4 separate regions of the Homo sapiens genome follow, and regions 1, 2 and 3 are each linked to region 4. The links are contacts of gene promoters, found by promoter capture Hi-C in blood cells and fetal thymus (Javierre and others, 2016). All regions are on one chromosome and are shown on one strand. The core of a region is centred on a gene start or on the middle of the fragment in contact, and the rest is flanking DNA. Distances in the headings are between cores, read along the strand shown.

What was found. The method cuts DNA at HindIII sites, captures the fragments that hold promoters and counts their contacts. A CHiCAGO score of 5 or more calls a contact.
Region 1: a fragment that was not itself captured here is called in contact with the fragment with the promoter of CYRIA in region 4 in 1 of 17 cell types (endothelial precursors); the score reaches 7.3 in endothelial precursors.
Region 2: a contact is called between a fragment that was not itself captured here and the fragment with the promoter of CYRIA in region 4, in 2 of 17 cell types (monocytes and M0 macrophages). The highest score is 7.1, in monocytes.
Region 3: a contact is called between a fragment that was not itself captured here and the fragment with the promoter of CYRIA in region 4, in 1 of 17 cell types (M0 macrophages). The highest score is 8.5, in M0 macrophages.

What each region holds. Positions count from the first base shown.
Region 1 is chr2:15,628,118-15,630,817 of GRCh38, reverse strand. It overlaps DDX1 (DEAD-box helicase 1), which reads right to left. Exons shown (of 26, transcript NM_004939.3): 21 at 2,301-2,373; 22 at 2,108-2,180; 23 at 1,979-2,021; 24 at 1,121-1,216; 25 at 708-828; 26 at 1-42. Among named protein-coding and RNA genes, the nearest start is that of DDX1, 38 kb to the right of the region's middle. The HindIII fragment of the contact is 1,371 bases long and covers 705-2,075 here.
Region 2 is chr2:17,760,372-17,763,071 of GRCh38, reverse strand. GEN1 (GEN1 Holliday junction 5' flap endonuclease) reads right to left here. Exons shown (of 14, transcript NM_001130009.3): 3 at 1,490-1,676. Among named protein-coding and RNA genes, the nearest start is that of GEN1, 7.6 kb to the right of the region's middle. The HindIII fragment of the contact is 904 bases long and covers 902-1,805 here.
Region 3 is chr2:17,809,586-17,812,285 of GRCh38, reverse strand. No RefSeq gene overlaps it. Among named protein-coding and RNA genes, the nearest start is that of MSGN1, 5.5 kb to the left of the region's middle. The HindIII fragment of the contact is 2,215 bases long and covers 284-2,498 here.
Region 4 is chr2:16,664,476-16,667,175 of GRCh38, reverse strand. CYRIA (CYFIP related Rac1 interactor A) reads left to right here and starts at 1,342. Exons shown (of 12, transcript NM_030797.4): 1 at 1,342-1,396. RefSeq lists silencers at 1,136-1,305, 1,376-1,425. The HindIII fragment of the contact is 7,241 bases long and covers 323-2,700 here.

The DNA.
Region 1 (2,700 bases), core at 141-2,640, 1.0 Mb after region 4:
CAGTAGGTGCCAAAATATCCACATGGCCTTTATAGCTTCCACCTGCATCACACACAAATAACAAAGTAATGTAAATGACATGCTTGAAATAACTTGTCAGCAATACTTTGGCTCAATTATATCACTTTAAACTTTGCTTGCAGCAATAAAATGTACTACTGGGCAAGTTATCTCCAGAACTTTGACTTTAAAAAATGTTAAATCAATTATTTCAATATAAATAAATAATTAGGCCTCACTAACAGCTGTCCCAACACCTCTACCCACCCTTGGCTCGGAAACAACTAGTTAGGCCTGAGTCTTACAATTTTTCAGGAACAAGCTAACAAAAGGGCATCCCAGGCAGAGGAAATAATATGCTGAATTACCACCTGAGTTAAGTCAAAGGCTTCTGATTCCTTGTTCAAAATCACCTATTATGCTCTTGTTTCCTACTAATTCCACAAAATGTTCAACTACTCTTATGACATTAACACTTCAAGAGAAAGAGCTAAGCTGAAGTCTTTCATTCACATAAAGATGACACAATTTAAAAATGCTACAAGGCAGGTATGGACAAAGTACTATGAGGGTAATAAGGAGGGAATGATTAACACGCTAAAAATATACTCTTAACCTAATGAAATGAAAGTACTGCCTTCCCAAACCGAAGTTCAAAACAGGTATATTTACATTTAAAATTGTATTTAAAATAATTCAAAGCTTACCACCAGCAGCCCTTTTCTGACCGTAGGTAACTTTCCCATCAAATTCATCCACTGGTACCTTTATATCCGGCTCAACCTGAGAAATGGTACAGTTCAGGTGTTCTTCTATCTCAGATAGTAACTAAGTAATGGAGAGAAAATTTCCAAATAAAAATTTCATTTAGAAAGAGTTGCATTTTATCATCATTAAATAAAGCTGGAAAGGCCAGAATGCTTGGTATAAATGGAAGTCAGATTTCTGAAGAGAGAAATTCACAACTTACAATTAGCAAAGTGCAGATAACATTATAACCAACTACGACTTTCCCTTATAAGTGACAAACAGATAAAAGCCAAGATATAATTTTTGAAGATAAATGCTTTCTATTCTACCATTTTAATACATTATTTGTGAGCCTAACTCGAAGTCTTACCTGCATCTCGTTGTACCATATGGTACAGCCTCCATCTTCCTTGAGTCTTGTGTTATAACACCCTTTTCCACGGCTGCTACATACATGGTACCAAACCTAAATTTAAAAAGGAAAAAATATTAACATGCATGGAGATAGAGACATGCTAAATATCTTATTCTAAATTTGTTTTTAATTGTTTTCTGTCCTCAAGGCACTAGAAAAATAGATTATAGGTATGATATATCATCCAATTACCACTACTATTCAGTAGCTCATTGAATAAATAGGTCTTCTGAAAAAGTTCTTTTTGAGAATAATCCAAAAGTTTTCCTAAAATGGGTGTCAGATATCAAAAGGAATTCTCAGATAAAAGTAGGATGAAAAAGTAAATATTGAAGCATACTATGTCAATATTAACATAAAAAAGTTCAAAAGAAAAATAAGTTCAAATCTTTTGTATAAGAGAATAATAAAGCAAATAATGCAAAATGTACAACTACTGAATTTGGCAATGAGTATATGGGAGCTCTTTATGAATACAACTTTTCTATAAATTTGTAATTATATCAAAATAAATCTCCCCTCACCATGAAAGGTCTTCCATGGCACCATGCCAGAAAATGTTTAAATATTTTTTGGTGGAAATGAGTACAATAAAGCTAGTTGGAAAAATTATATTTTGCATTTTTCCTTTCTAAATTTCACCCTATTATTTGTCCATTCAATGAATATAGGAAAAAAGATGACATTAAAAAGTTCATTTGTATTCCATACGCAGCTGAATTAAATTTAAATGGGAAAATCAAACTGCTTTTATTTCCAACATCTAAAATCACAACACACACAATGAATATAATAGAGCCCTACAAAGATTACCTTTTCTTTTTCTGTTGCCACCAGGGAAATTGCCAGACCCATCCTGAAAGATGGTTAAAAGCCTTCTATTAGACTTTATTCCTAAAGCATACAAGCTTAAAAATGGGGGAAAAAAAATTGCAGAAGTACCTTTCAGCTCTTCCTACTCTGCCAATTCGATGTACGTAGTTTTGCTTTTCATCGGGCAGAGTGACATTTATAACTATAAATAAAAACCATTATTAACAATTGCCAGTAGTTTCTAAATTTTTCAAACATATTAGAAGGCTTTACTTTAGATTCCGTAACAATCACACTACAGGCATAAAAAGTTGCTTTTTACCATAAGGAACACCGTGGATATCAATTCCTCTAGCAGCTACATCTGTGCAAATCAAGAATCTTACATCTCCTTTCTAAAGAGAACAGTGAAGAGAGAAAGGAGTTTGTTAGCACATATACTAAACAATAAAAACAAATGCTATCCTTCCACTAAATGAGACCTCTAAAAACTCAAGTGTTACTATCAGATTAGAGGTCGACATACTCCTAATTTACTGGACCAAGTCTTGAAGTTTTATGTCATGATCTGCTGAAACATGACATTTAAGGTGATTAAATCAGAGATTGGGTTCATTTTTGCTTTTCTTTTTCTACTCAAAGATATTAAACTATTGCTAAAACTTGGCTTAATCTTTATAAATATCTTTAGAAATTGAAGAGAAAGACAAAACAGAATACAA
Region 2 (2,700 bases), core at 104-2,603, 1.1 Mb before region 4:
AAACCTCAAGAGGTAAGTAGGTAAAGGACATGATGATAGCCATTACCCAAAGGGAGACTAAAAATAGATGAAATGTTTAACATTACTATTAAAAGACAAATGCATATTAAATATCTTTGTTGTTGCACACTAAATATTACAAAGACAAGCCTCCTAACATCCAATGTTCTTGTGAGTGCACCGACACTGCTTCTCTGACATCTGCATTAGCAGAAATTAATCAGCAAGAGCAATAAAATCATTCCAAAACTTTGACCCATCAATCCAACATTGGGTAATTTTATCTAAAATTTCAAATCACAAGAAAACATTATATACACAAAAAATGTTAATCACACTTCCATGTATAGTAGAGAAAAACTAAAAAAGTAAATAACATATACAATCAGGGGTATGATTCATAGCTTCATACATGTTGCACAACCACTACAAGTTATGATTTTGATTAGAATGTGACAAAAGGGAAATATGACAACATGAAGCATTAAGTGAAAAGGCTAGGTTAAAAATCATGTGTACTACTACAACTCTTTAAAAATACACACATTTGAAAACAGACAAAAAAGGCCAGGCACAGGGGCTCACACCTGTAATCCCAGCACTTCAGGAGGCCGAGGCAGGCGGATCACGAAGTCAGGAGATCGAGACCATTCTGGCTAACACAGTGAAACCCTGTCTCTACTAAAAAAAAAACAAAAAAAACTTAGCCAGGTGTGGTGGCGGGCGCCTGTAGTCCCAGCTACTCGGGAGGCTGAGGCAGGAAAATGGTGAGAACCCAGGAGGCGGAGCTTGCAGTGAGCCGAGATTGCGCCACTGCACTCCAGCCTGGGTGACAGAGCGAGACTCCATCTCAAAAAAAAAAAAAAAACAACCAAAAAAAGAAAACAGAAAAAAAAAAGCTTCCTATTGTTTTAATTATATACTATAGATGATTTCTTTCTTAAGTTTCATACAAATATAAAATATAGCAATATTAAAGTAACATATAAATAATATATTATAATGTAACGACAGTTTTTAAAATTACAAGCCCTAAGGGAAGCCAAATATATATTCTGTATATGAACTATCATGAATTCTGAATGAGTGAAGTACGAATTAATGAGATCTCATGTATTCTGGGACTTCTTTAAGTCCTGAAGGTGTTATAAAAGGTAATATGATCAAGTTCCTACCATGTACTAGTTGCTTTAGATATACTTTCTCTTATTTTTATCACATCCCTGCTGAGTATTACTGTTGTCATTTCACAAGGTAACATACAAGGTAGAGATAGGTTACAAATTTTGCTCAGTGTCTCAGAGTTTCTACATACCAGTGCCAAGAATGAAACTCAGGTCAATTTCACTCTAAAAAATAAACTCTTTTCTCTAGGCACATCCCTGCTAGTCACAATAAAATTAATAAGTATTAAAGATGACAAACTATTAAGAGTAAAATGCACCCTTTAATTCAAATCGGAATTACTGAATCAAATCTGAATGCTCACCTCTCTTAAGACTGATTTAAAATGTGATCTCCCTGTTTTCTGAGACCACGATTTTCCAGAAGACCCATACCGAGACTGATTCCTCTTGCTTATGACATCAGCTTTCAGCTTTGGTGGTTCCCCTTCCATAACAAATACCAGTTTTACATCCATTTGTGTTAAATATGAGATACGAAAAAATAAGTTCCTGAAATATATAAATTAGTAATACATTAATCATCAAACACTGATAGTAAAAGTCAAAATAGTATAACACAAAGGCAAGAACATTAGACTAGTATCAAAAACGTTAATGTAATAACATTTTACTTAAGCTTTAATTAGAGTGGAAAACCACTGAATTTTCTTTTTCTTTGACAGAGTCTCACTCTGTCACCCAGGCTGGAGTGCAGTGGCATGATCTTGTCTCAGTGCAGCCTCAATCTCCTGGCTCAAGTGATCTTCCTGCCTCAGTCCCCAAGCAGCTGGGACTACAGGTGTGTGCCACCATGCCCGGCTAATTTTCTGTATTTTTTGTAGAGATGGGGTTTCACCATGTTGCCCAGGCTGGTCTTGAACTCCTGAGCTCAAATAATCCGCCCATCTCAGCCTCGCAAAGTGCTAGGAATACAAGTGTGAGCCACTGTGCCCGGCCAAAACCACTGATTTTTTTTTTTTTTTTGAGGTGGAGTCTCACTCTGTTGCCCAGGCTGGAGTGCAGTGGTGTGATCTCGGCTCACTGCAACCTCCACCTCCCAGGTTCAAGTGATTTTCCTGCCTCAGCATCCCAAGTAGCTGGGATTACAGGCATCTGCCACCACACCCAGCTAATTTTTTTTTATTTTTAGTAGAGATGGGGTTTCTCCATCTTGGCCAGGCTGGTCTCAAACTCCTGACTTTGTGATCCACCTGCCTCGGCCTCCCAAAGTGCTGGGATTACAGGCGTGAGCCACTGCACGCGGCCAAACCACTGAATATTTTTAAGCAAGAAAGATTTATGATTATTCTAATTGCTATGTGGAAAATAGTCTGGGGTAGGGGAGGCCAAGAGCAAGAAACTAGTGAAGATGGCACTTCAGGAGTATAGATGAGAGATGAGGTTGGCATAGACTGAGGTGGTGCCTCTGGACACTGAGATAAGTTTGTGAACACAAAGTATATTTTGGAGGTAGAACTGGCAAGACTTACTGACGGATTAGATGTGGAGAGAAGTAAAATAGGGAGAAAATGTC
Region 3 (2,700 bases), core at 142-2,641, 1.1 Mb before region 4:
CTTGAAAAATGTTCAGGTCCTATTTTCCAAAGTATAAGACAAAGGTACAGGTTGTTTCATCTCTCAAATCCCAGGCCTTCATATTGACCTTTTTATTGTAGCTACACTCACTAAGGAGGATCCCAGATTTGCCATACATATTAATAAGTGGTCTGTGTCTAATTTTCAGAATGATGAGCTTCTGAGGGAATGCTGGTCATGTTCCTGACAACAGTCAGGACAACTGGGCATTTCACACTGGCCTCAGAGGATTGTAAACTCTACATTTAAGAGCCAGGAAGCTTTCTTGAGGCAGAGCCACTTCCAGGAAATTGGCAAATAGTGCTCAAAGGATAGACAGAAAACAGAAATCAAGAGGCTGATGGAATTCCTTAAGCTGTGGCCACCGGTGGTTCCATGCCATTACCAGCCCATACGGCTCCTTTGTGCAAATTACAAAACAACCAAGCTAAGGCTTATTTCAGCCCTGCTTGCCTCTTCAGCCCAGCACCTTTGTGCAGGGTGCACCCTCCTCAAGCAGTGGCCCTGGGAGCCCCTGTGATGTGCCTCCTCTGCAATGTTAGCATTTTTAGTACTTTGGTGGCTGTTTGAACATCGGTGAACAGATAGAACATGGGGGTAGTGGCAAGAGTGCAGGAATAGGAGCCAGGTCAAACCTGTCACATCTTACATTTCCTCCTCTGTTATTGTGACCTGGGACACATGAATCAATCTTTCTCAGCTTCAGCTTCATCTTCATCTGTGCAATTGAAATACTAATACTTGCCTTATAGAGTACACGCTTTTAGCAGGTTTACACATTGTAAACTGTAAGTGTGGTAACTAATGTTGCTGTAATTATTAATCTTGTGCTGGGGCAGGGTGCTGTAGCTCATGCTTGTAATCCCAGCACTTTGGGAGGCCAAGGTGGGTGGATCACGAGGTCAGGAGATCGAGAGCATCCTGGCCAACATGGTGAAACCCCGTCTCTACTAAAAATACAAAATTAGCTCGGTGTGGTGGCATGTGCCTGTAATCCCAGCTACTTGGGAGGCTGAGGCAGGAGAATCACTTGAACCTGGGAGGCGGAGATTGCAGTGAGCCGAGATCGTGCCACTGTACTCCAGCCTGGTGACAGAGCAAGACTCCATCTCAAAAAAACAAACAAACAAAAATCTTGTGCTGGGTACATTCTTGGTTCCTTGAGTCAAGAGAAGTTAGAGCCACAATACAAGTAGCCACAAATATATCACTCCCACTTTCTCTTGGCCTCAAGTCCCCCCTGCTTAGAAACCAAAATCCCTCCATTCAAATGTAATCTTTCTTTTTTAATGGAACCAGAGTAGTGGCGTACCCTGGATGGGTGGTGAGAACCTTCAGCCTCTGGTGTAGGCAATAAAGGGAGGTATTGTCTACATATAATTTTAAAACAGTGATAATGCTTGGCTAAAAGTTGGTCTTTATCTTATTATAACCATGTAGTGGCAATTCTAAACAATGACAATAATAAAATGACTCCTCTTTAGGGAAGCCCACTCCCACCAACACCCCCATCCTTGGTACACCACTGCCAAAGAGAACTTGGAATTCAGTCTAGAAATGTGGAACTGTCACTCAAGGCACCCAAATCCTCTACTTTACTATGGAAATTTGAGTGAGTCATTCAACCTTTGCGGACCTCAGTTTCCTTGTGTGAAAATTAGGAATCTTATATATTGTGTTGCTATGACATTTTTAAAAATTAAAAAATTGAGACTTGACTTTGGAAAGTATGAAAGAGTATAGGGATATGTTTTGATATTACCAAGATTAACAAAAATACTTTCACCAATGCAATTATCTGCTCCAAACCCAGCCATTTGCCATGATACATGACACCAGGTAAATCAGCATGGAAGGTGGTTCATGCTCCTTTAAAAGCCTGTCTCATGAGAAATAGGACCGTCTCAGACCTTTGAGAAGCATCAAGGTTGAGGGTCTATTTCTCTTGTGATCTCCTGGATCCCTGTTCTACATGAGGTAGTTTGTATGGGCCATTTGTTCGAGTCAGAGGGAGGACTCCAGTGAATTCCAACTCCTAATAATGCTTCAGAAAAGCCTTCCATAGATAAGAATTTGGTCAATAAACTAAGAAATCTAACCCTGGAGTCTAATTAAAATGAGGGTGAACCTTTATTGCATTCCTGCCATGTGCTGAGAACCAGACTTTTCTCTTTCAGGTTCATTAGTTAATCTTAATTTTCGCAGCAATTTTGAAAGATAGAGGTTCTAATCCACAACCTAAAGATGAAGAAATTTGTGTTCAGAAAGAGACCCAGCAGACACAGCAAGAGGATGGGAAAAGTAGAATGCGATCTAAGTCTGTGTGAATTCCAAATCCCCCCGTACTACATAATTATAATTTCAAATTCTACTCTACTACACTATTTCCCAAAAACAGCTTCATACATGTAATGTAATCACTGGGAATAGGTACAAGATGCAAGGCTTGGTTCCAATCTTGCCTCTTCCATGAAGCTTTCCCTGCCTGCCTCAGCCCTTGGAATTTCCCACTTTTCTGATCAGTAGCACTTAGATTTGGCACCATTCATTTGCCATTAATATTTACCACCTGATATTCTGGTTCTCTGTTCACATGGATATGACTTATTCCCATCAGCTACATTGAAACGTCTTTAAAGATATAGATGATGGCTTTTCTATCTCTTAGCATGGTGCCAG
Region 4 (2,700 bases), core at 93-2,592:
CCCGGGGGATGGAGGTTGCAGTGAGCCGAGATCACACCACTCCACTCCAGCCTGAGCTACAGAGTGAGACTCTGTCTCAAAAAACAAAAACAAAAAAAACACCTTTGCAGGAATTGACAACAGAGGCTGGTCTAGGGCATGGGGAAAACTCAAAAAGAGAACGGGAAAGTGTTTCTTCTGGTCCTAAGGACCCCTTCCAAGTGGGAAAATATTTCACTCTAACTAGACAGTGCCTTCCTGCCCTCTGTGAATTTTTGCCAAAAAACAGACCAAGAGCCTCTGTGGGCAGTTCAGGAGAGCCTTTCAGAGTGCAAAGGAAGCTTGGGCAACAAGTCCTCCCAGGGGAAACACCCTGGATCTCAGAAAGGAGAGGGGCCTGAACACCTTCTCCTGATGCTTCCCGCCTCCTCTGATCCCAGCCCACACAGGGCCCCAACCCATGCAGCTTCGGGCACGTACCTTGGCACACTATGGGGATTTAACACATGTTTCATGATGTTCTGGCTGATGGACTGGGAAAGGAAGCACCCGAAGCCGGGGTCCCCAGGAGCTCTCCCTCCCCTCAACAGGAGCTCTGACTCACAACCTGTTTGGCACTGCTGAGTCCTCTCCGGTTTCCTGAATCTCCCTCTCTCTAATGCAAAAAGCCTCCATGGCAGATGTTTTAGAACAATGATCACGTCAATGACGCTGTAACCCACTACTTTCTTTTTGCATCATAGAATTTTTTAAGTGTTTTTGCAGACTTACTCTTTAAGGTTAATTACATGTTTTGGATTGAGCCTTTGGGAAGACTTTACAGTGGTCCTATCGGATAACTGCGGGCCCCAAGGCTGGAGATCTGTTAATAGGGTGGGCAGAAAGGGACTGGGAGCGAGACTGGGTTCAGAATCTCAAGTAATTTGGAGTGTGCCTAGGGATTGGGATGATTTGGCTGGGCATTAATTTGAAGGTGAATATGCGTCTAGAGATTGCGGGGATTTCTTTTTCTTGGAGGGCAACCGTGGGTGTGGAGGAATTTGGTGTGCAGAAACAGAAAGGTCTGGTTCGGGCTTCCTCTGGGAAGGCAAGGCCAAGTGGCCAAGGCTGAGAAGGGGCAGGGGCGACCGTGCTGGGGCGGGTCCGCACCAGCTCCTGGGAGCAGAGAGCAGAGCCGGGCAAAGAGATGGGGTTGTCCAGGCTAGGGTGAGGACGCGGCCGGTGACAGCGCGGGTGGGGATCCCCCGGGGCCGGGGCGGGGCGGCTGCCGCGAGCCGGGCTGGGGGCGGGGCGGGGCGGGGAGGGACGGGGAGGGGCGGGGCGGGGCTCCGAGGCCGTCTCGCAGGCTGCGGCGGCCGCGGGAGAGGCGTACTCGGCGGCGGCGGAGCGGGCGGCAGAGCAGGGCGGCGGCGACTCGGTGAGCGCGGCGCGGCTGGGGGCGCGGCAGGGGCGCGGGCGGGGGTCTGCGGGCGCGGGGCTCGGCCTGCACGGGGCACCGCGGGGCACCGCGAGGCGGGGCGGGCGCCTCCCTGCCATCCTTCTCCTCCCGGACGCCCCTGCAGCCTTTGGGAGGGAGGGAGAGCGGAGGACACCGTCCGGGAGCCCTTCTCTAGCGATCGCCGGACAGAGGTCCGGCTTTGTGCCCCGTTGCCCTCTTTCTGAGAGGGCTGCCTCCTGATTGTGTTCCTTTCCCAGACCACCCTCCCTCGTCCCTCACTCACTTACCCCCCACCCCAGGTATCATAAGCTCCATTCTTGCAGGGGACCCCTAACACTCCCCTTCCCACCACCCGAGGCCCCGGGGTCCTGGGTACTCTCTACAGCCCCAAAGGGAGGGATGGCCCCCTCCCCAGCCCCTGCACACCTGGACCCTTCTGTTGCCACCTGCCACAGACGTTCTTAGCCAGCCAGAAAGCTGCTGTGCCTAGGACCCAGCACACCTTGCCGTCACCCTCTCTCCTCCCCCAGAACCCAGAACCCCAGTTTGGCAAAAGGCACTTTTCCAATACTGAGCTTTGGGAACAATTTGACCCACTTCCCAAAATGCTGGTCCCAGGCCAGCCATGCTTTTTGGTGGAGACACCTGTCTTGTCTGCCAGGAGACATTCTCTGTCAAAATGGGCCAGCCCGTCCCTGGGTCCTCCTCCAAGCTGCTCCTACTCGCTAGCCAGTGTCCCCAGAGACCAGGGCCAAGATCTTTGTCATTTAAGGCCTCCAAAGCTATTTCCCCACGCATCCCCAGAATTCCCCCAGCCACTGTTTTGGGGGTGCCAGGTCCAGAACTGATGGAGCAATCTTTCTGTGTCCAGGGCCTGATGTCCTCTCCCACACCCTTGTTTACCCGCCTGCTCCCCAGGGAACCCAAGACAGGGTCATGGGGCTGGAGTTTAGGGCCCTGATCTCCCCTGAAGCTCTGTGACCCTCCTTTTCTCCCTGTTAGAAACTTTCCTCTCTGTCACCAGTCACTATCTCCTCTGGATGGGACCTGGGCCATCTGCACAGTGTCGAGTCCCCAGGGCACAGAATGCTGATCTGGGACCCTGGAAGGCTGGGACTTGTGCTGGGGCAGCAGGAGGAGAGTGGCTGCTAGCCAGGTCTGGGCTTGGGTACCAGAGTTCTTTGGGTGGATCATTGTCGGCTTTCACTGATCTCTGGTTGGGGTTCGAGGGCTTGCTTTGCAGTGGAGACAGGAGGCAGAGCAGGGGCTGTTTTTCCTGCGTG